Regions from separate parts of the Homo sapiens genome. Here all the other regions are linked to region 2. Evidence: promoter capture Hi-C in 16 types of primary human blood cells and fetal thymus (Javierre and others, 2016). All regions are on one chromosome and are shown on one strand. The core of a region is centred on a gene start or on the middle of the fragment in contact, and the rest is flanking DNA. Distances in the headings are between cores, read along the strand shown. Region 1 overlaps C18orf54 (chromosome 18 open reading frame 54). Region 2 holds the start of WDR7 (WD repeat domain 7). Region 3 holds the start of MBD2 (methyl-CpG binding domain protein 2). Region 4 overlaps LOC124904307 (a long non-coding RNA gene). Region 5 overlaps LMAN1 (lectin, mannose binding 1). Region 6 overlaps SEC11C (SEC11 homolog C, signal peptidase complex subunit).

Region 1 (3,349 bases), core at 843-3,342, 2.3 Mb before region 2:
ACAGGAAGGGGCTTGCGCTCTGGGGCTGTCGCTTCGGAACACTTCTCCTTCAGTCCATTGCTGCGCTCGCCCTGGCTGCTGAATAAATGGTTTCGGAGTGAAAAGCATCTCACTGAAGAACTTGTCTGTGTCTGTGACTGACGGGCGGTGGAACACCAAAGGGAGGGTGTCGCCTGATTGGGACTGGAAAAATTGGAATTCAGGGCGCCCGGGGTAGGGGAACGATGCGCACTGCTGGAGACGGGCGACCTTCGCTGGCCGGTCGGTGGGTTCCTGGTTTTCTGCTGCCGAGTAAACAAACGTTCCCTTTCCTAACTTAGCAGTCACAGAGCTATTTCCAAGAGTTGTTCTTAATTTCCTGTGCGATATTCCCATTGGCTATTTAACACTGAACATTCTGTTTTTGAATCAAAGTTAGTTAAAATTTGTTGTCAATAAGTTTAACATTCTGTTCTTCCGCGTGATGGATTTTCTTTTGGAGATTCGAACTGAAGCCTGTACGGAGGAAATGGTAAGATATATGGGATTTGCATGAGATATGTGGGGTTCAAAATAATCCTGTGGCTGAAGTGGGGAGAAGTGGGTGGGTCCCTACCCACTTTAGCTACAATTGGGGTCTGTTCAGCGATTGTTGGAAGCAGGATGATGAGTACATAGGGGTTTATTGAACGATTCTACTTTTGTATACTCTTTTGGGGAAAAGTTGGAAAACTTTTCATAATGAAACTTAAATTGTGCATTTTCTTTTTGTCTGTCCTGTGAGTTGAAATAACTAGTAAATGTTATCACCCACTTACGGAGACCAATACAACAGCTTTCTCTTTCAAGGTTTTGTAAAATAAAATCAGTAGCCTGTTCGGCATTCAAAGACAGAAAACATTTGGTCAGGCTTATCCAAACAAATTTACTTGAGTGAGTTTAAACTTCTTTAAATAAAAGGGATACGAAAAAGGTAAAGCTGGCTTAGTTTAGCCATTCGTCAGAGATATACCAGTATTACAGAATTCAGATAAATCAATGAGACGAAACAACTGTTACCTTATGTTCTGCCATTTGCACTGACCACGGTCAGATCTCTTGTAATGGCCATTGCATGCTCTAACGCTGTGGTAGGATGATGTTTTACTTTGTCTCTTATTTAATTAGAAAACTTTCGATGTTTTAAAGCCAAATTTAATAGTTACTAAGATTACATTAAAAGTTGTTATAACAAATATTTCTAAAATTATAGCCAAAAATTAAACATTATAACATCATAGCATATGTTAAGTCCTCAACATTAATACTTTTTTAGTATAGGAAATCCATTCATTTAATTTTAAAAAGAATGTCATCATGGACTGAATTAGTGCCGGTTCGTTCTGTGATTTCTTAGGTTTTCAAATATACATCCTGTTACTGTACTGAGGTAGACAGGGATTCTCTCAATTTTAATAATGGAAAAACAGAAGAACACATTGAGTTGATTTTCACATTATTTAAGCTTCCTTTGAAAGAGGTGAGCTGAATCCATTTAACATAAGAATTGAAAATAGGGAGGGTGGTACCAAAAACGAAGGTCAGGAAATGATTAACTATTTTAGGAAAAGTGTATATTGCTAACTCATTCCAGAATAAGACCTGCAGTTTATTTACAGTTAAATGTTGTAAATGTACTAGCATTTATAACATTGAAAGTGAATATTCTCCATTGTTCTTGTTTTGAATACTTCATTTGATGGCTTTAAAAAATTTATTGAGCGCTATTATCTGCAGCACATGGTAGTAGGCTTATGATTTGAAAAATATGATGTATAGGGGAATATTAGGTATTGTGATGTCATAGAATATATCACCATAAGAGAAAAGAGGTTCATAAGTAGTTTTTAGGACTTTTTAAGAAGTGAGTACTCTCTCCTTGGTATTTTCCATGTATATTCTCAGATAATTTTTGTATACATACTTCCAGCCACATAGTAGGTACTCAAAAAATGTTTTCTAAATCATTGATGAAGGAATTCACAATAATAAATATAACAAAAATCTACAATTCCTAACAAGGAGTGTCTGTTATAGATAATGGATTTTATTATTTAAAGAAAATTACAAAAGGTTTACATATTTAGTAATTTTGTTTGTGTATGGTCACTTTTAATTGGCATCTTAACATTTCGTTTTTGTATTACAGTTGTTTTTAAGGGAAATGAATAGAAACAATCCACTTTGAAGAAGCCATGGCGAAATCAAAGACAAAACATAGACTTTGTTCTCAGGAATCTTCAGTATCTGCCCTGCTGGCAAGCTGCACCCTGAGTGGTAGTAATTCCTCTAATTCTGATGGCTCGTTTCACTATAAAGATAAGCTGTACAGATCTGCTTCTCAAGCTCTACAGGCTTATATTGATGATTTTGATCTAGGCCAAATATATCCTGGTGCAAGCACTGGAAAAATTAACATTGATGAGGATTTTACTAATATGTCACAGTTCTGCAACTATATTTACAAACCAAACAATGGTATGCTTTTATTCTTTGTTTTCTTTGTGTTCAGATGTTTTGAAGCATTTGGGAGATGTACTGTAGTATTGTAAAGTTTGACATTATTTTTGTTACTTTGGAGTAAAAATAACATAATATTGAGATCTGGGTGTTTTTGTAAAATGATTATATAATTCTCTGTGGAACAGTAATATTCACAAGATGTTAAGAGTTTGTCCATAATAAAGCTTCCTTGAAGACAAGTTTGGAAAATGCAGTTGTTGATAAGTCAATTACTACTTTACTTAACACTTGCAGAATGACCCTAGAATAGAAAAAGTTTGTATTCAGTTCTTGGAGGGATGTGGTCAATATATTCCGGAAGCAAAGAATGAGAACAGCTGTTCTCTATGTATAATCCATGCCATTGAAGGGTTTGTAGGTGAGAAAACAAGTTATTTTTCCACCTAGTTTAATAGCATATTTTTTTCTATGCTGCAACCAATATTGAGTGACCAATGTTACTGTGATTGTATTAGTGTATCAGATATGTCTAGATGATGAAAGTTGAAGGAACAGTAAATTAGAGAACACAGGAAAATTCAGGAGGTTGGAGAGAAACGTAGAAATTAACACAGAACGAAGAATCGTGAGAAAAAAAGCACATCCTGTTTTATCCACCTACACCTTTTTATGCTTTTAATCAAAGCTTTAGTGAGGATAAGGGGAAAGCAGCAAAATGCCTCTTAAATTCTTAATTCTCATTTACTGTTGGATATTATAAAATATTTGTATGTAATAAACAAAACTGTTCTTCGTTTTTCAGCTTTTGAAAACCTTGATCACAAAAAGCACTCAAACTTCATATCCTGTAGAAGACACACCGTTAATG
Region 2 (3,407 bases), core at 894-3,393:
ATTACAGGCGTGAGCCACTGTGCCCAGCCTGCTACTAAATTTTAAGGACAGAGTAGTACTTAAGTTTTAAAAATGCCACTAAAGCTGGGTGTGGTGGCTCACGCCTGTAATCCCAACACTTTGGGAGGCCGAGACAGGCCAATCTTGAGGCCAGGAGTTCGGGACCAGTCTGGCCAATAGAGTGAAACCCCATCTCTACTAAAAATAAAAAAAATTAGCCAGGTGTGATGGTGTGCACCTGCAATCCCAGCTACTCGGGAGGCCGAGGAAGGAGGATTGCGTGAACCCAGGAGGTGGATGTTGCAGTGAGCTGAGATGGTGCCATTGTACTCCAGCCTGGGTGACAGGGCAAGACTCCATCTCAAAAAATATATATATATATGCCTCTAAAATGGTGAAATTCCCGATTTTATCCTGTGGGTCTCATTTATGATTCTTTTGCAGTGATAACCATACATTTTTGGTTACAACAACAATGACGACATCTCACTTGTCTCCTTGCTTCCCTGTATTTCCCACCTGATTTACATGGCACATTGCTGCCAAATTAATATTTGTGGCTGGCCCATCTTAAGTGACCCCGATAAGTCACACTCTTGTATAATCCTTTCTCCTTGAGTACAGATAAAACCCGTGACTTACTTTAACCAATAATATATGGCAAAGGTGATGGCTGTCACTCCCTAATTTAGGTTATCATCTACATCCATTTCCATATCTATGTCCATGTCCATATCCATGGCTGTATCTATATCTGTGTGACTCCTTTCTTGTGCTCAGTAGAGAGATTCTCCTTGCTAGCTTTGAAGGAGTATGCTGCCATGTTGCGAGAGAGCCTTTAGTAAGGCCCATGTGGTAAGGAACTGTGGGTGGCTGCTAGGACCTGATGGCCACTTCCAGTTCAGAGCCAGTAAGAAGCCAGGGCCCCTAGTCAGACAGCCACAAGGAACTGAATGAGCTGACAGGAGTTTGGAATCAGATTCTTCCCTAGTTGAGCCTCCAGATGAGAATTGCAGTTTGGCTGACATCCACTTGTAGCCTTGTGAGAGCATGAGCACAGGACTCAGCTAACCTGTTCCTGACCTCCTTGCCCATGGAATGTGAGGCAATACATATGTGTTGCTTTAAGCCACTAAGACACTAAGACTGTGATAATTTGTTGTAAAGCAATTTTAAAAACCTGAATACCATGTGGTTAGGAAAAGTGCTACACTATTTATTAGTCAAAAGTCTTCAATTACTTTTCATTGTCTTTGGAATAAAGACCAAAAAGCTTATATGGCCACTAAAAGCCTCTTGTTATCTACATTATTCTATTTTTCCATGTTACTTTTTTATTACCTGGTCTAGGCCGAATGTGATGAAGTCTCTATCAACCCACAAGAGAGCTCCAGGGCATAGACTGCCTGTTAAAGGAGCCGCTCACGGAGCAGAAACAGCTAAGCCCTGATACCACATTTTCCCACTTCACCTACTTCACGTCCCTTGTATTTCTTCCAAATTTAACTTTCTATTTATTGCATATATTCATGTTTTACATTTCAATGCTGGTGACAAAGTTGTTTTCCTTTCCCAATTATTATTCCAAATCTGACCAATTTTTCTAGACTTCCATATGACCTAATGTGATTATCCTTCCTTACCCCAACCTAGAAATAATTCATCTCTTTTCTTCCTTGCTCCTTATTTGGCATTTCTCATCCTGCACTATACTATAGCTTATCTATCTTGGGGGACATTTGTCATTCTTTTTAGCTTTCCAGCATCCAACATACTTTCCAGTGTTTAGGGAATTCCCTACCTCTTGCATCTCAGTGGGAAGCAGTGTGATGGGGTCAGAAGTGTAAACTTGCGCAACATCCTGCTCCCAAGAAAGACGTGCACTTGCTACTTCATCCTTCGCTCCATCTTGGTCCTCCCAACTGGAGAGAGGACAGCCTAGACGAGACTTCCCACAACCAAGATGGCGGCCGTGCACTCCTTGCCCACAGCTGGCCTTTTCTCCACTTTCGGTCTCCATCGTAACGCGGCTGGCTCTCTCGGCGCCGGCTTAGGCCTTGCAAGTAGGGAAATGGTGAGTCTTTCCCGCCCCCTCATTTTTGCGACAGTTGCAGCGAAAGTCACGGCAGTTGGGGCTGGTGTCAGCTGATTTACTGCAGTGGCGGCGGCGGCGGCACCGGCACCTTGCAGTATCACTGGGGAGACGGCGGCTGTATAGCGCTTGCCGCCCCACGGATTATCCCAGCAGGATCTACGCACCCCGCATCCTCCGTAGTTCCGCCCTATCCTTGTCCTCCTTGGCTGGGGCGCCCACCGGCGGTCTGATAGGCTACATCGCGGCATGAGATGAAGCTGTGACAGGTAAGGGGGCTTTCAAGCTTCTCCATGGGAAACCACAGGGCGGGATGTTCCTGCACCGTGGAGGTCAGGGGTCAGGGGTCAAAGGTCACAAACCCGCTCTAGCCGGGGGCGGTGCTAGCTGTCAGATCGCTGCGGCTGCAAGCCTGCAGGTCGGGCCCAAAAGTAGGCGCCGTTACCAAGAGCGTGGGGGCCAGCCGGGGGTCTTTGTGGCTCCCTTGCCTGGTGAGTGATATTTGCTACTTGTGACAGTTGCTTTGGTCTTGAGGTGGGACTGCCTGGTTCCCAGGTGCAATCTAAACGGGATCAGGTGATTGGTGATGATCGTTGGTGGTTATTGACAGCAATTTTGGGCGATGTGCTTGCTTTTGGGGTTCATATAGTCTTTCCTTTCCTGTTGGTACTATTTTTGCCCATGCCCAAGGTACTGACACCACTGTTAGAATTTCATTTTTGAGATGCCATCTGCCAGTTCTTATCCCTTTGCCCTAGTACTTGTCTGAGCGGATGCCAGTCACTCCCATTCACTTAGTGATGGGTCCCAGCGTTCTGAAGCTATGTTTGAAGTCAGCACTACCCTAACTTTGATTCAAAAATTGCTGTTTTATGTTTTTTACCCACTTAGTATGTCACTTTTTGAGGCAGAATTTGCTGGGTTAGATAGTCTGAAACTAGGGAACCTACCGTCGCATGACAGGCTGCATTGATATTGTTGATGCTGCTGAATTTAGGGTTCGGTCAGTGGCAGCTATAGCTTCCTCTCACTGTAATATTTGCCATGAGACAAAAAAAGGCAAACTGACTCTTTCAGGTGTTTATGTCTTAGGATTTTATGGGCAAGGTTGCAGGAATTGCCTGTTGTATGAAAGAAATTAACTGAGTTTTTGACATTTTGTAAAACAAAAATTTTAGTTTGACTCTGCTTCTTGCTTTATAAACAAACTCGTGGCTGTATGAAGGTCAGCTTAAAAGTGAACATAATGTGTTGAAATGCCCTCATTATTACAAAGAATAAAAAACTGTCTAGTTCCATCCAGAACAATACATAT
Region 3 (3,413 bases), core at 671-3,170, 2.4 Mb before region 2:
AACTACTCATCCATATATAGCAACCATCAGGAATGTGTTCGTATTTACATGCTGCACCAGCAGTGATCACATTCTTGTGTGTGCATATGTATGTATATATGTGTATGTACATTTCTTTAACCTTTTCAATCTAGTTAAAAGTATTTTTAGTTCATAAGCATGGTATGTGTACAGACACATTTTCCCAGAGCTACTTGAAGAGGACAGGAAATCCTTTATAACATTATTACAATAGCTAAATGACAATTGTCTCCAATACCCATATACATTCCCTGAAAAATGCTTCAGTCAGTCCACAAACACGTACCTCCAAACTACTGAATACAAGTTTATATTATCTTCTATCAATAGCATGGCTTATTACAAAATTTAGTAAATGTGTATTAAGTCCACGGATGTCAATTGCCATAGGCACTTTCTTGAGCTTACTGGGTCACACAAACTGAAGACATCAGCAGCATGACCACGGGATTGCAAGATTACACTAAGGTGAAAAACCTTGAATCATTTAAAACAGGATGTCTCAACCTCAGCACAGGTGACAATTTGGGCCAGATCATTCTTTGTTGTGGCAGCTTTCCTTTGTATTATCGAATATGTAGCAGCATCTCTGGCCTCTACCCACTAGATGCCAGTATCACACCCTCCCCAGGTGTGAGAACCGAAAATGTCTCCAGACATTGACAAATGTTCCCTGGGGAGCAAATTTTGGTCTAGGAGTCTAAAAACTTAGTACAGTGTGTCAGTTTCAAAAGAGTATATTCTGCAATACCAAGAAGTTCCAAAAAAACTTCAGGCATTCCAAATAGCTGCTTTATACAAAACTTTCTTGGATGAAGTAAATGAAACCTTGTTACTGTAGATAGCTCATTCTTCCACATGTGCATGCTTAACACTTGTGATGATGAATCTGGGACAGGCTGGGACAGGAGCCAACAGTGACTGGGTTTTATAGTTTCGATGAATTACACCTCCTTTTAACCCTTCAGTGGACTAACCATCCCTGCCAGGCTAACCCTTTCTTCGCAAACCATCTTCCCCGACGCCTTCCACATAAGATGCCCTCCTGCGGGCCCTCACCTTTTGACACTGCCTCCCACCGCACTGGGGTCAACTCTCACCCAAGGGTTCCGCCACCTTCCACCACCAAACCAGCCTGTCCCTGCCACATGCCCCCCGGGCCCCAGCGCTCATCCTCTGCCCAGGCCCGCTCTTGACCCCTGACCCCGGCCTGACCCCGCCACCCCCTCCCCGCCCCCAGGGAGGTACCTGAAGTAGTAGACATCGCTCTTGCCAGCACTTAGCCCAGATTTTCGGATCACTTCCTCCTTCTTCCATCCGGGGGGGAGGGCCGGGCAATCCATCCTCTTCCCGCTCTCCGTGGCCCGGGGTCCCCTGGGCCCCGGCCCCGCGCTCCCCGACGGGAAAGGGACCGGCTCCCGCCGGGGGGCGCCGCCGCCACCGCTGCCGCCGCCGCCGCAGCCGCCGCCGTCGCCGCCAAGGCCGCTGCCGCCACTCGGGGGACGGCCGCGGCCCCGGCCCCGGCCCCGTCCCCGTCCCCGGCCACGGCCCCGGCCCCGGCCACGGCCACAGACGCCGCCGCCCCGGCCCGCCTGCTTCCACCGCCCCCGGCCACGGCCGCCGCCCCGAGCGCCTTCCCTGCGCACGCCGCTCACCGGGGACGGGGCGAGCGCGCTGCCCTGGCCCCCCTGCTCTATGGCGGAGTCGCCGCCAGCGCCGCTGCCGCCCGCCGCACTCTCCCCCTCCTCCTGCTCCGGGCAGCAGCGGCCTCCCCCCGGGTGCGCGCGCATCCAGCCCCCTCCCCAGCCGGCGCTGCGCTTCTTCCGTAACCGAGCCCTTGGAATCCCGGAGACCCGCCCCGCCCGCAGCGCGGCGCGCGGGGGACGCGCGCAAGCATCATAGAGCGGGCGCGCACAGAGCGGCCCTCCTGCCCGGGGCGTGGCCCCGGCCACCGCCTCTTAGGTCCTCCAAGCGCTATGGGCGGCCATCTTGTCTCCGCCTTCTCGGGGCCACGCCCCCTCCCGCGCTTTTCCGGCCCCCACTGGGCGCGCGGAGCTGGGAAGGTTGGTCGGGCTAGCCACCAGCTGGGGGTGTCATAGTGACTGTGGTTAGTTTGTTTCAAACGGGGTAACCTCCACCATTATGTGATTTTACCTATGTTTGCTTCCCAATTAATGAATAACAAGCAAAATAGATCTTATATTACATACCAACTCGGCTATTCATTTAAGGGGGTGATAGCCCCTTTTCCCGCCCCTCTGCACAAAGCTTGCAGGGGAGCTTATAATGAAGGAATGAAGCAAAGTGTCCCATTCGCTGAATACCAGTTCCCTCCTGAGCCTGGCTTCAGAGCCATTGACAGATTCTCCTGGAACCTTGTAAGGATGTAGGAAAGGAAATGATAACTTGGAATATGCCCATGAGTCAGATGGGGCTTACCTCTAGATTCTCCTTAGAATGACCAGAATCCCTAAATCCATCTAGAAATTTCCAGATGTCTTTGTCTAATACAAAAATCAGTGGCCTTTTATTTGGTAAATATTCCATTATGTTGAAAGTCCAGCCTAACTTACTGTCACAAGCCTTTAGGAAACTGTGTGGTATTCTTTTCGGTCTGCCAACTTGAATTTTAGAAATGCATATTTTCTATAAGTTGTCGAACACTTATAGAAGTGTGCTATTGATATTCAAGATAATATATTATGAAATATTTGGAAGATTGAAAAATGTAAAGCACATGTTATCAGCCTGATGATAAGCTATCTTGGGTTTCTATACTCATATGCCCTAAAAACTGAGGACCAAGTTTAACGTATAGAAAAAGTTGATTAATATAAAGCAACAAAAATCTAAAATTAATTTGGTTTATCTTTGCAGTATATGCAAACATTAACTCATACACACAAACTTGTCTGTCTCTAAACCTGACCTTAGTCTTCTTTTAATGTCCTTTAGTTGAAAGACACTAATTTGTGGTTTCCTACAAGAAATTTAGAAATGTGAATGTAAAAAATCATCAAGAAATGAGTTCTGAGGAGATCAGTACTGGAGACATTCATTTAGAAGTCATCTGTGGGCCGGGCGCGGTGGCTCACGCCTGTAATCCCAACACTTTGGGAGGCAGAGGCGGGCAGATCACCTGAGGTCAGGAGTTCAAGACCAGCCTGGCTAACACGATGAAACTCCGTCTCTACTAAAAATGCAGAAAATTGGCTGGGCGTGGTGGCGGGCGCCCGTAGTCCCAGCTGCTCCGGAGGCTGAGGCAGGAGAATGGCGTGAACCCGGGAGGCGGAGCTTGCAGTGAACTGGATCACGCCACTGCACTCCAGCCTGGCAGACAGAGCGAGACTCTGTCTCAAAAAAAAAAAAAGAAGTCATTTGTGGCCGGGCGC
Region 4 (3,296 bases), core at 493-2,992, 2.4 Mb before region 2:
GAGGCCGAGGCAGGCGGATCACAAGGTCAGGAGTTCGAGACCTGCCTGGCCAGCATGGTGAAACCCGGTCTCTACTAAAAAAATACAAAAAACTATCCAGGCATGGTGTTATGTGCCTGTAATCCCAGCTACTGGGGAGGCTGAGGCAGGAGAATTGCTTGAACCCAGGACGTGGAGGTTGCAGTGAGCAGAGATTACACCACTGCACTCCAGCGTGGGCGACAGAATGAGACTCCATCTGAAAAAAAAAAAAAAAAGAAATAAATAATATTTATTTACCGCAAGTATATTTTTGGTGGATTCTATTAAAGTACAAGGCATACACGTTTTCCACCCTAATATGTTCTAATAGGAGAGAGAGACATTAAAAACAAGTAAGATGTAAATAAGATAATTACATATTGGGATAAGTGTTATAAACGAAACTCAGTAAGATATGAGAGAATGTGGTAACTCTGGGGGAGGCCTTCTGAGTCAGTGCAGTTTGGAAAGGTCAGTCTGAGGTGTTGACATTTGAACAGAGAACTCAAAAAAGAGAACAAACCAGTTCTGTGAAAAACGTTCCAAACTTCAGAATGATTTGGAGGCAGAAAATTGTCCTGTGATGGTTAATTCATGTATCAACTTGACTAGGTCATGGTGGACCCAGATATTTGGTTAAACATTATTCTGGGAGTATCTTTGAAGTGTTTGTAGATGAGCTTAAAATTTGAATCAGCAGATGGAGTAGAACAGTTTTCCCTCCCCACGGTGGATGGGCGTCGTCCAATCCATTGAAAACCTGAATAGAACAAAAAGGTTGAGTTAGGGAGAATTTGCACCCTCTATCTGACTGTCTTTGAGCTGGGACATCAGTCTTCACCTGATGTTTTAGGCTTGGGCTGGAACTTACATCATCAGCTTTCCTGGTTCTCAGGCCTTCTGGTTCAGACTAGAACTATACCACTGGCTCTCCTGGGCCTCTGGGTATCCAACCCACAACTAATATGTGTCGCCAGAATAGAAAAGGGGCTAGAGGCTGGGCGTGGTGGCTGACGCCTGTAATCCTAGCACTTTGGGAGGCTGAGGCAGGCAGATCACCTGATGTCAGGAGTTCGAGACCAGCCTGGCCAACATGGTGAAACACCATCTGTACTAAAAATACAAAAATTAGCCAAGCATAGTGGTGCACGCCTGTAATCCCAGCTCTTTGGGAGGCTGAGGTAGGAGAATCACATGAACCCAGGTGGCATGGGTTTCAGTGAACCAAGATCGTGCCACTGCACTCTAGCTGGGCTACAGAGCAAGACTCCATCTCAAAAAAAAAAAAAAAGAAAAAAAGGAAAAAAAAAGGGGCTAGAGTAGCCCAAGTGTAGGAAAAGATGGTCACTTGCTATGAGAAGTAGAGAAGAGATGGAGCCTGCTCCATCAGGGCCTTGAGGACCATGGCGAGTAAAGGGTTTGATTTTTACTTTAGGTATTGTAGGAAGCCTTTGAAGGATTTTTGGCAGGAAAAGGAAATTAGATATTACATTTTTAAAATATTATTCTGGCTGTCCTAAGGCTCACAGATTGTAAAAAGCAGATACTAGGAGCCCAGTACAGCAGGCCAAACCAGAGATAACTGTATGTATGTGGGCTGGGGCGCGGGGGTGGGGGTAGTGTCAGTACAGACACAGAGAAGTAGAGGGATTTGAGAGAACATTTGGAGGTAGACCCGACAGGCCTCATGTGTCATAATGTGCTTGTAAATAAAGTCTGCAAGTTTCAGTCATTGAGAGAAAGGGAACTACTTGATGTAATACAGAAAGTGCAAGCAGATTAACATAGATCAGGCACACTGTGTTAAATTTATAGACATCTAACTTTAATGTAATTTTTTAAGTACCTCATTTTTTGTTTGTTTTTGGAAAACAATGTCCCTCTGTTGCCTAGTTTGGAGTGCAGTGGCGTGATCATAGCTCACTGTAGTCTGGACCTCCTAGGCTCAAGCAATCCTCCCACCTCAGACTCCTCAGGAGCTGGGACTACAGGCACACACCATCATGCTTGGCTAATTTTTAAAGTTTTGTAGAGATGGGATTTTGTTATGTTGCCCAGGCTGGCCTTGAACTCCTGCACTCAAGCAATCCTCCTTTCTTGGCCTCCCCAAATGGTAGGATTACAGGTGTGAGCCACTGCATCCAGCCAGTACCTCATTTTTTTAATTGAAAAAGTAATCCATGATTATGATGGAGAATTTGGAAAATATAACATTATTCTAGAATTTTAGGAGATTGGATGTGTCTTAGGGAAGGGTGGGATCAAACCCATGAAGAAGGGCACAAAGGTATATGAACAAGAATGTTCACTGCAGCATTACTGGTAACAGCAAAAAATCAGAAATAAGTGTCCATGATTATGGAATTGGTGAAACAATGTAGCCATTAAAAAGAATGCAGTACATTTTTGTGCACTGAAAGGAAATGGTGTTCAAGATATACTAGGTAAAAAAGTCTAATGCAAATAGTATACATAGTGTGATCCCACTCATGTGAATTAGAATATTTTTCATTGTGTCTTCCTTATACTAAGAATATTATAAATAAAAGCCTAAATGTATCAAATTTTGTTAGCAATGGTCACCTCAAGGTGGAGTGGGGATTAGGAAGGATTTTAACTTTATGGTTTATACCTTTTTGTTTTAGTAAGATTTCTTAAACAATGGATATGAAGAAAAAAAATTTTTAAGTAGACACAGAAGCAGTAATTTTAGGATCAATAAGTACTTCAATGAAGTCTTTGAAGCAACAGTAAGAAAAAGTCCTATAAATATAAGCATTACTTTTCTTTATAGAGAGTTTATATTAATCTCAAACCAGAAAAATGGAGATTATTAAGTTGAATTTGTTAGCATTTCCAAGATGAAGTTGAGACTGTCTTTATTCATGTTCTTCGAATTAACATTAAAAACAAATACATGGATAGAACGTTTTCTGTGTCATTTATTTAGGCAATGCATCTTACAGTGGTTTTCGTGGTTTGGTAAATAAATACACAAATTTATTCATGGAAAATACAGAAAATTAGTGGGGCATGGTGGTGCACACCTGTAATCCCAGCTACTTGGGAGGCTGAGGCAGGAGAATTGCTTAAACCTGGGAGGTGGAGGTTGCAGTGAGCCAAGATCGTGCCACTGCACTCCAGCCTGCGTGACAGAGTGAGACTCTGTCTCGGGAAAAAAAAAAAAAAAAAACCGCAACTTTCTTTTTGTCATGCTTTGTGAAAAAATGATTAAAGCATGGTTTTCTGAGCATCAAGATTATGGATTATTACAG
Region 5 (3,372 bases), core at 651-3,150, 2.7 Mb after region 2:
AGACTACACTTGCAATATTTAAGATCTCTTGCTTTGGCTGTGTTTCCCCCACCAACAGCACTTATTGCTTTCAACCTCCTCTTACTTTGTTTTTCCCTCCAATGTGGAAACAACTGGGACAAGCTAGGGTGCAAGTACTCATGAAAATAAATACTTCTTGAGCACTTCACATTGGCACAATATTAGGAACTAGGAGAAATACAGGATATGCCTATTGTGAGAAGTTTACAATCATATTGATAAGAAGAGATATACATATAGTTAATAAGCAAATCAGTACAACATATCTCAAGGCCAAATAAGCATTAGAGAAAAAAAAATACTCTAAGAGTTTAGGAGAGACAGATCATTATGAGCTGTTTAGGAAATCTGATAGAAAAGGGATCTGAATTTGTGTGCTCAAAGCTAAGTATGACTTTAACAAGTAGAAAGAAAAGGAATTATTACCAGACTGAGATGTACAGAGAGGTGAAAACCAATAAGTAGCAGTCACGTGTCCAGCCAGTCTCTTCAAAACGTGTACCTGAAAACACTAGCTCCATGATCACTCATAGACATTAGGTGAAAAAAAATTCCATAGTTAAGTCAGTCTGGGAAATGTGAGGTCTAATAAAGGTTTATTTATCCTTTCTTTATAAAGGATCCTTCATAAAGAAATCTTTAATGTGCTAATATGCAGAGTAGTGACCAATCTCATCAATTGTGGAACCCTTTCTGGGGAGTACGTTTTGCAAGGCTATTGTTTTGGAGTGCTGCCAGGGCTCACAGCCTCACGGTGTTGGGTCACACGGACAGTCTGCACCCACCATGCTTGATGTCTGGGCTTTGCTACATGCAGGTAAGCAAGACTTACTGATGACTCTAATGAAACTGTACAGGGTGAATAATTATAGTGGAATTCAAACCCAAGCTAATTATAATACATTGGACACTTGCTCTATTCTAAGATCTCTAAATTAGCTTGGAATTAAGACTAAGCCAATACAGTTTTCCACAGAACTAACTTTCTCAGAGATTTAGACCCAGGAGTGTAAGTCTAGCTCATGATTTAGGTGAAAGAAAAATTCATACACTATTTTTTTTACTTTTAAGTATTATATAACCAGGTATTAATGGCATCTTTAAAAAGCAAAGTTTACAATGCATAGTGATCTTAGTTATCATAACTGCCAGTTAGATATCTCCACCTATATGTTATGCTAACCTCAATTTACCTACAACTAAACTCATTACCAACCCTCTGATTTCCCATTCCTCCCCCAAACAGATAAAACACAAACAAATGTGCTGCTTCTTTGCTAGTAAATAGTACCAATTAGCTGTCCAATTGGCTATATTCAGGAACTCTCCTTGACTCAACAACTGTGTTCACCCCTAACCCCAAGAAAACTGGTACTAAGAATACTGGGACCTAAGTCATCTTTCTAAATTGCAAATCTGATAATTTCACTTCCTGCTTAAAACCCTTTAAACATTTTTAAAAGCTTCTTATGGGTTAAACTACAGGAAGCTGTGCAAGGCCTGTTACTGCCCTTTCAACCTCACTGCTCACTGATCTCTTCTATCTCCCAGCCACACCAAACTACATGCCTTTCCAAAATATTTCAAGCTCTCTCAAGGGCCTATGCCTGCTTTCTGTGCTTGGAGTACACCCACTCACTCGCACACACACACACCCTCTTCCCCCAACTCCCAGGAACTTCCTGATCTCCCTGTAGGGCACAGCTCAACTCTGAGAAAATGTTCCTGCCCTTCCCCACCTCCACCTGGCAGTTACAGGATTCTAACCACAGGACCGCTTGATAGTGTCTGCAACGCAGCATTTATCACACAGCATAGGAATGATACATTTGTGTGTCCTCTGTTAGGCTATAAGCTCTCTGGGGAGAAAGTCCATCTGTCTTACTCATATTTGTATCCTGAAGGCTTGGAGATTATCCGTCTATCTATCTATCTACCTATCTATCTATCTATCTATAGATATATATATCTCTCACATGTGCTATACAGTAGGGGGCTTAAACATTTACTGACTAAATGGAAACATACCATCAGGGGTTTACAACAGATGACCACTTACACTGAGCTGTGAAGCCACCTCCGTTCTCTTAGAGTAACAATGAAGAGTATGTAAGCATATCCAAATTTAAGTGCATTTAATTTCTATCAAAAATTCAAAATGAAAAGTGATACTGTAACATTGTTTATTTGATTCTCTCTAAATAGATGTTACTTACTGTCAGTGTGTTCTGGTAATAGGTAATCTTTGCTCGGACAGGATAGGGTTTGTTGCGGAAGTCCCTCTGGCAACTTGCCAAAGCTTGACTAGCCCCGTCACTATAGTGTAAGGGGGAGGAAAACAGACAAGACACTCAGCTTTTCAATATTTAAAAATTCAGGAAGACTAAAATAATATCAAGTTATGAAAAAGTCTTGAGATACTTTATGTTATTTACTCAAAAGACTACACGAGACTACATGAGACTAAGGCAGTGAATCTCTACCCTAGGGCAGAACATGAATCACTCTCTGGGCTTTTAACATGTAGATTCCACTCCAAATCAACTGAAGCAGAATCAAAAGGAGGTGGCCTAGGCACCTCCATTTTAAATAGCTCCATAGGGAGTTATGATGAACTACCAGGGCTGAAACTCACTAAGGCAGAAAAACAGTAAACAGGCACATGGATAAGTCACCTTTCTTACAGTTCACTGGTTAAAAGCTATTTCCTCCACAACAAACACGTGAAAATAAAAAATGTACATACCTAATTTATATACATTATAAATATACAGTCATCCTTCAACATCCATAGGACATTGGTTCCAGGACCCCTGTGGATACCAAAATCCTCAGATGCTGAAGTCCCTTATATAAAATGGCACAGTATTTACATATAACGTGTACATATCCTCTTGTATACTTTAAATCATCTCTAGATTACTTATCACACCTAATATGATGTAAATGCTTTGTAAATAGTTGTTACAATGTATTTTAAAATTTGTATTCTTGTTGCGTACACAAAATAATTTGTATTATTTTTGATCTGCAGTTGGTTGAATCCACAGATACGGAACCCACAAATACAGAGGGTTGACTGTACTGAACACTTAGAATCTCTGCAAACCACTGAGTCTTTAAATAACACAATATTGAAGTTAAATAAGATGGCATAAATTGCTTAATCATCAGCCTTAATAATCAAGGCTCAACTTTATTTTTTAAAGATCCCTTTTAATGAAGATAAAAATGCATGATTAGTGGCATCACTGAGAGCCAGGAACAGTCTATAAACTTTCAAAAGTATATTATTAAATAATTTGAGGTTAAATTAAAAACACATACCATGGTTGAATCTGAGATGGTCCA
Region 6 (3,438 bases), core at 442-2,941, 2.5 Mb after region 2:
GCTGGAGTGCAGTGGTGCAATCTCGGCTCATTGCAACCTCCGCCTCCCGGGTTCAAGCGATTCTTGTGCCTCAGCCTCCCGAGTAGCTGGGATTACAGGCACATGCACCACCATGCCTGGCTAATTTTTGCATCTTTAGTAGAGATCGGGTTTCACCATGTTGGCCAGGCTGGTCTTGAACTCCTGAGCTCAGGTTATCCGCCCACCTCGGCCTCTCAAAGTGCTGGGATTACAGGCATGAGCCACACTGCACCTGGCCCCACTTTCTACTCAGTTATTTCCATATTGTTGCTCATTTATTTCCTTTTCCACATTATTAGAATTAAGACTGTAATAAATGTCTTCGGGCCATAATTCTCAACCTGCCTTTAGTTTATACTGAATTCCTAGAAGTAGGATTATGGGCCAAGAGTAACCTCTTAATACTAATGCCAAATAGCTTTCAGAATGGTTTATCAATTTGTATCCCCATCACAGTGTATTCTTGCTAGCACTAAGTATTAGTATTAACAACAACAATAAAAAAACCAGACACTTTAAATTTCTTAGGCAAAGGCTAGGTGTGGTGGCTTACGCCTATAGTCCCAGCACTTTGGGAGGATTGCTTGAGGCTAGTATGTTCAAGACCAGCCTGAGCAACATAAAAAGACCCCATTTCTACCAAAGAAAAAAATTTAGAACTACCCAGGCATGCCAGCACATGCCTGTAGTCCAGCCACTTGGGAGGCTGAGGTGGGAGGATCCATTGAGCCCAGGAGTTTGAGGCTGTGGTGAGCTATGGTTGCACCACTGCACTCTAGCCTAGGCCACAGACTGAAACCTTGTATCTTAAAAAAAAAAAAAAAAAAAAAAAGTTGCTAGAAACAAAAAAAAAGGAAGGGGTTGCAAGGAGGGTAGAGGCAGGATTATTGGTTTGAACATTTTTTATGTTTATTTACTACTTGTATTTTCCTTTGGAAAATTATAGTTTTAAGCTTTTACCTTTTTCTGTTGGAATTTTAGTGTTTTTCTTATTGCTGATTTGTTTGCACTCACCATTAAAGATGTTTATTTTATCACTATTTATTCAACAAATTGAATACTTAACTTTTGCCAAACCCATGTTGAATCTTGAGGATACAGCTATGAGCAAGGCTGAAATGATCCCTACTTTTGTGGAATGTAAGGTCTAATGCAAAAGACACATTAGGTAATTATATGCTTAATTATGATGCTGATGAACGATACAAAGAAATACAGGATGCAGTGAGAATATATAATAGGAAGACCTAGGCTGGCCAGAGTGGAGATTGGCAAACCCCATTGCACCACCTGTTTTTGTAAAGTTTTATTGGCACACGGCCATGCTCTTTCTTTTACATATTGTCTATGGCTGCTTTCCCGCTACATTGGCAGGGCTGAGTAGTTTCAATGAGACTATGTGACCCGTAAACATAAAATATTTACTGTCTAGCCCTTTACACAAAAATTTGCTGATTTCTGGTCTAGCCAGTCAGGGCAGGGTTCTGTTGGACACTGACATTTAAAGGTGGATGTAAAGGTGAGTGTTTGGTAAACTAAGGGGTTCAGGGAGGGAGCCTTCTGGGTAAAGGCCCTGGGGTGGAAAGAAGCATGTGAGGTGGAAGCATGGACAGATACCACCAGTGCAGCTGGGGTGAGGCGAGCTTCACAGGCTGAAGCGGGGCTGCAGGGTTATATCAGACAGGGCCTTAGAGGCCATATTGTAGTTTAGTCTTCATCCTCAGAGTAGTGGGATGCAATCAAAGGGCTTTAGGCAGGGCATAGACAACCAGGTGACCAGATGTGCATTTGAAAACCAGTACAGTCAAGCACCATATAATGATGTTTCCATCAATGGTGGACTGCATACATGATGGTGGTCCCAAAAAATTATACCATATTTTTACTGTGCCTTTTCTATGTTTAGTTACATAAATACTTACCAGTGTGTTACAGTCGCCTGCAGTATTCAGTACAGTAGCATGCTGCACAGGTTTCTAGCCTAGGAGCAATAGGCTACATCGTATAGCTTAGGGGTATAGTAAGCGACACCATCTGGGTTTGTATAAGTACACTCTATGATGTTCAAACAACAATAAAATCACCTAACAACGCATTTTTCAGAATGTGTCTGTCATGAAGTGGCGCATGACCGCCCAGAGTGTATCACAGAGAATGGATCAGAAGAGGTGTGCATGGGCATTAGGAGACCTGTCATGAGGCTTCACAGCAGCCTGATGGGCCCCGTTGGTGATATGATGAGAGTGGCAGCAGTGGGAATAGAGAGACCTGGACAAACTCCAGACGTGTTTGGAAAGCCAGAATGTATAGAATGAATGGGTAGGGGGTGGCTCCAAACAGCAGGGTGATAATAATGTCATTTACTGAGAGAAGGATCCCTAATACTGAAAGCTTTTGGAGAAGGTAAGTTTAATTTTGACATGTTGAGGATGGGGTATCTTTAAAGACATCTAAGTGGAAACATCAGGTAGGCAGTTGGAAGTCTCTGAATTGGGAGTAGTTAGCCTGATGGGACCAATGCCAGCATTCAGGTAGAGGAGGAGATTCAGGTAGAGGAGGAGCAACTGGCAGGAAGACAAGAAAGTGGTGAGAAGTGGATGGCATGCCATCCTGGAAGGCAGGGGCTGAGGGTTCGAAGAAATGATCATGTGTGTTGAGAGCTGCTGGAAGGTCAGGTAAGGTGAGGGCCGACAGTTATCCTTTGGATTTAGTGAGCATGTGACTGACTATGTAGGTTGAGGACTGAATATAGATGGTGAAGAAGGGGAGCAACTTGGGGTAGACACTGTTTTGAGAAGAGCTGTGAAGGAGAAGAGAGTGTGAAAGCTGGAGGAGGATGTGAGGTGGAGGAAGGGTTTGCGATGGGAGAGTCTTTAGCTGATGGGAGGAGGAGGTATAGAGCCGTGATTCAACTTTCACTGCACCTCAGAATCACCCCACCCCTCCCAGTGATCCAGCTGGTCTGGGATGGACTTTCCAGGGCTTCCCCGATGATTCTGAGGTGCAGCCAAGGTTGAGAACCAATGGTATAGAGCAGTGGTTCTCAGCTGTGATTCCCACTCCAGCAGCTTTCGTGTCACCTGGGAATGTGTCTGAAGTGCAGTCCTCAGGCATCGCCAGCTGATCCTAGTGCACGCTGATGCTTGCGCTGCTGCTGTAAAGAACTGTCCGGACACTGAGAAGTCAGAACCACGTAGAACCACCTGGCAAAGTCTCCATTTGGACTTCCCGAGTGTCTTTCACTCCGACTTTTCCAGGCCTTGTGTATTTTAAACTGTATTTAAACTGTGTTTAAAACTGTATTTTAAGTTGTACTCAATGCTCAAAAAGAGTTCATACCACCACATTCCATCTCAGTTAATATTAAATTTGGATAGTTGAGGAAAATGATGTTGCCCAGAGCCACGTGATCCAGGT

Evidence for each region. Contacts are between HindIII fragments. The CHiCAGO score rates a contact against its expected background, and 5 or more counts as called.
Region 1: a contact is called between a fragment that was not itself captured here and the fragment with the promoter of WDR7 in region 2, in 2 of 17 cell types (fetal thymus and non-activated CD4 T cells). The highest score is 9.7, in fetal thymus.
Region 3: a contact is called between the fragment with the promoter of MBD2 here and the fragment with the promoter of WDR7 in region 2, in 10 of 17 cell types (naive CD4 T cells, total B cells, activated CD4 T cells and 7 more). The highest score is 13.9, in naive CD4 T cells.
Region 4: a fragment that was not itself captured here is called in contact with the fragment with the promoter of WDR7 in region 2 in 1 of 17 cell types (M0 macrophages); the score reaches 5.5 in M0 macrophages.
Region 5: a fragment that was not itself captured here is called in contact with the fragment with the promoter of WDR7 in region 2 in 1 of 17 cell types (activated CD4 T cells); the score reaches 8.0 in activated CD4 T cells.
Region 6: a fragment that was not itself captured here is called in contact with the fragment with the promoter of WDR7 in region 2 in 1 of 17 cell types (activated CD4 T cells); the score reaches 5.2 in activated CD4 T cells.

Annotation. Positions count from the first base shown.
Region 1 is chr18:54,358,360-54,361,708 of GRCh38, forward strand. It overlaps C18orf54 (chromosome 18 open reading frame 54), which reads left to right. Exons shown (of 9, transcript NM_001288980.2): 2 at 415-511; 3 at 2,168-2,496; 4 at 3,284-3,349. The coding sequence starts at 2,214. Among named protein-coding and RNA genes, the nearest start is that of C18orf54, 2.1 kb to the left of the region's middle. RefSeq lists enhancers at 51-562, 64-133. The HindIII fragment of the contact is 1,222 bases long and covers 1,482-2,703 here.
Region 2 is chr18:56,649,216-56,652,622 of GRCh38, forward strand. It overlaps WDR7 (WD repeat domain 7), which reads left to right and starts at 2,144. Exons shown (of 28, transcript NM_015285.3): 1 at 2,144-2,361. RefSeq lists an enhancer at 1,875-2,264. The HindIII fragment of the contact is 1,105 bases long and covers 1,272-2,376 here.
Region 3 is chr18:54,222,749-54,226,161 of GRCh38, forward strand. MBD2 (methyl-CpG binding domain protein 2) reads right to left here and starts at 1,921. Exons shown (of 7, transcript NM_003927.5): 1 at 1,270-1,921. The coding sequence starts at 1,811. RefSeq lists a silencer at 1,622-2,011 and enhancers at 2,762-3,304, 3,305-3,413. The HindIII fragment of the contact is 9,949 bases long and covers 1-2,287 here.
Region 4 is chr18:54,260,381-54,263,676 of GRCh38, forward strand. It overlaps LOC124904307 (a long non-coding RNA gene), which reads right to left. Exons shown (of 2, transcript XR_007066379.1): 2 at 1-781. Among named protein-coding and RNA genes, the nearest start is that of POLI, 7.5 kb to the right of the region's middle. RefSeq lists an enhancer at 1,773-1,832. The HindIII fragment of the contact is 7,662 bases long and covers 1-3,296 here.
Region 5 is chr18:59,350,965-59,354,336 of GRCh38, forward strand. It overlaps LMAN1 (lectin, mannose binding 1), which reads right to left. Exons shown (of 13, transcript NM_005570.4): 5 at 2,238-2,337. Among named protein-coding and RNA genes, the nearest start is that of LMAN1, 6.6 kb to the right of the region's middle. The HindIII fragment of the contact is 836 bases long and covers 1,483-2,318 here.
Region 6 is chr18:59,143,897-59,147,334 of GRCh38, forward strand. The region is part of intron 1 of SEC11C (SEC11 homolog C, signal peptidase complex subunit); the gene reads left to right. Among named protein-coding and RNA genes, the nearest start is that of SEC11C, 5.7 kb to the left of the region's middle. RefSeq lists an enhancer at 647-696. The HindIII fragment of the contact is 1,438 bases long and covers 973-2,410 here.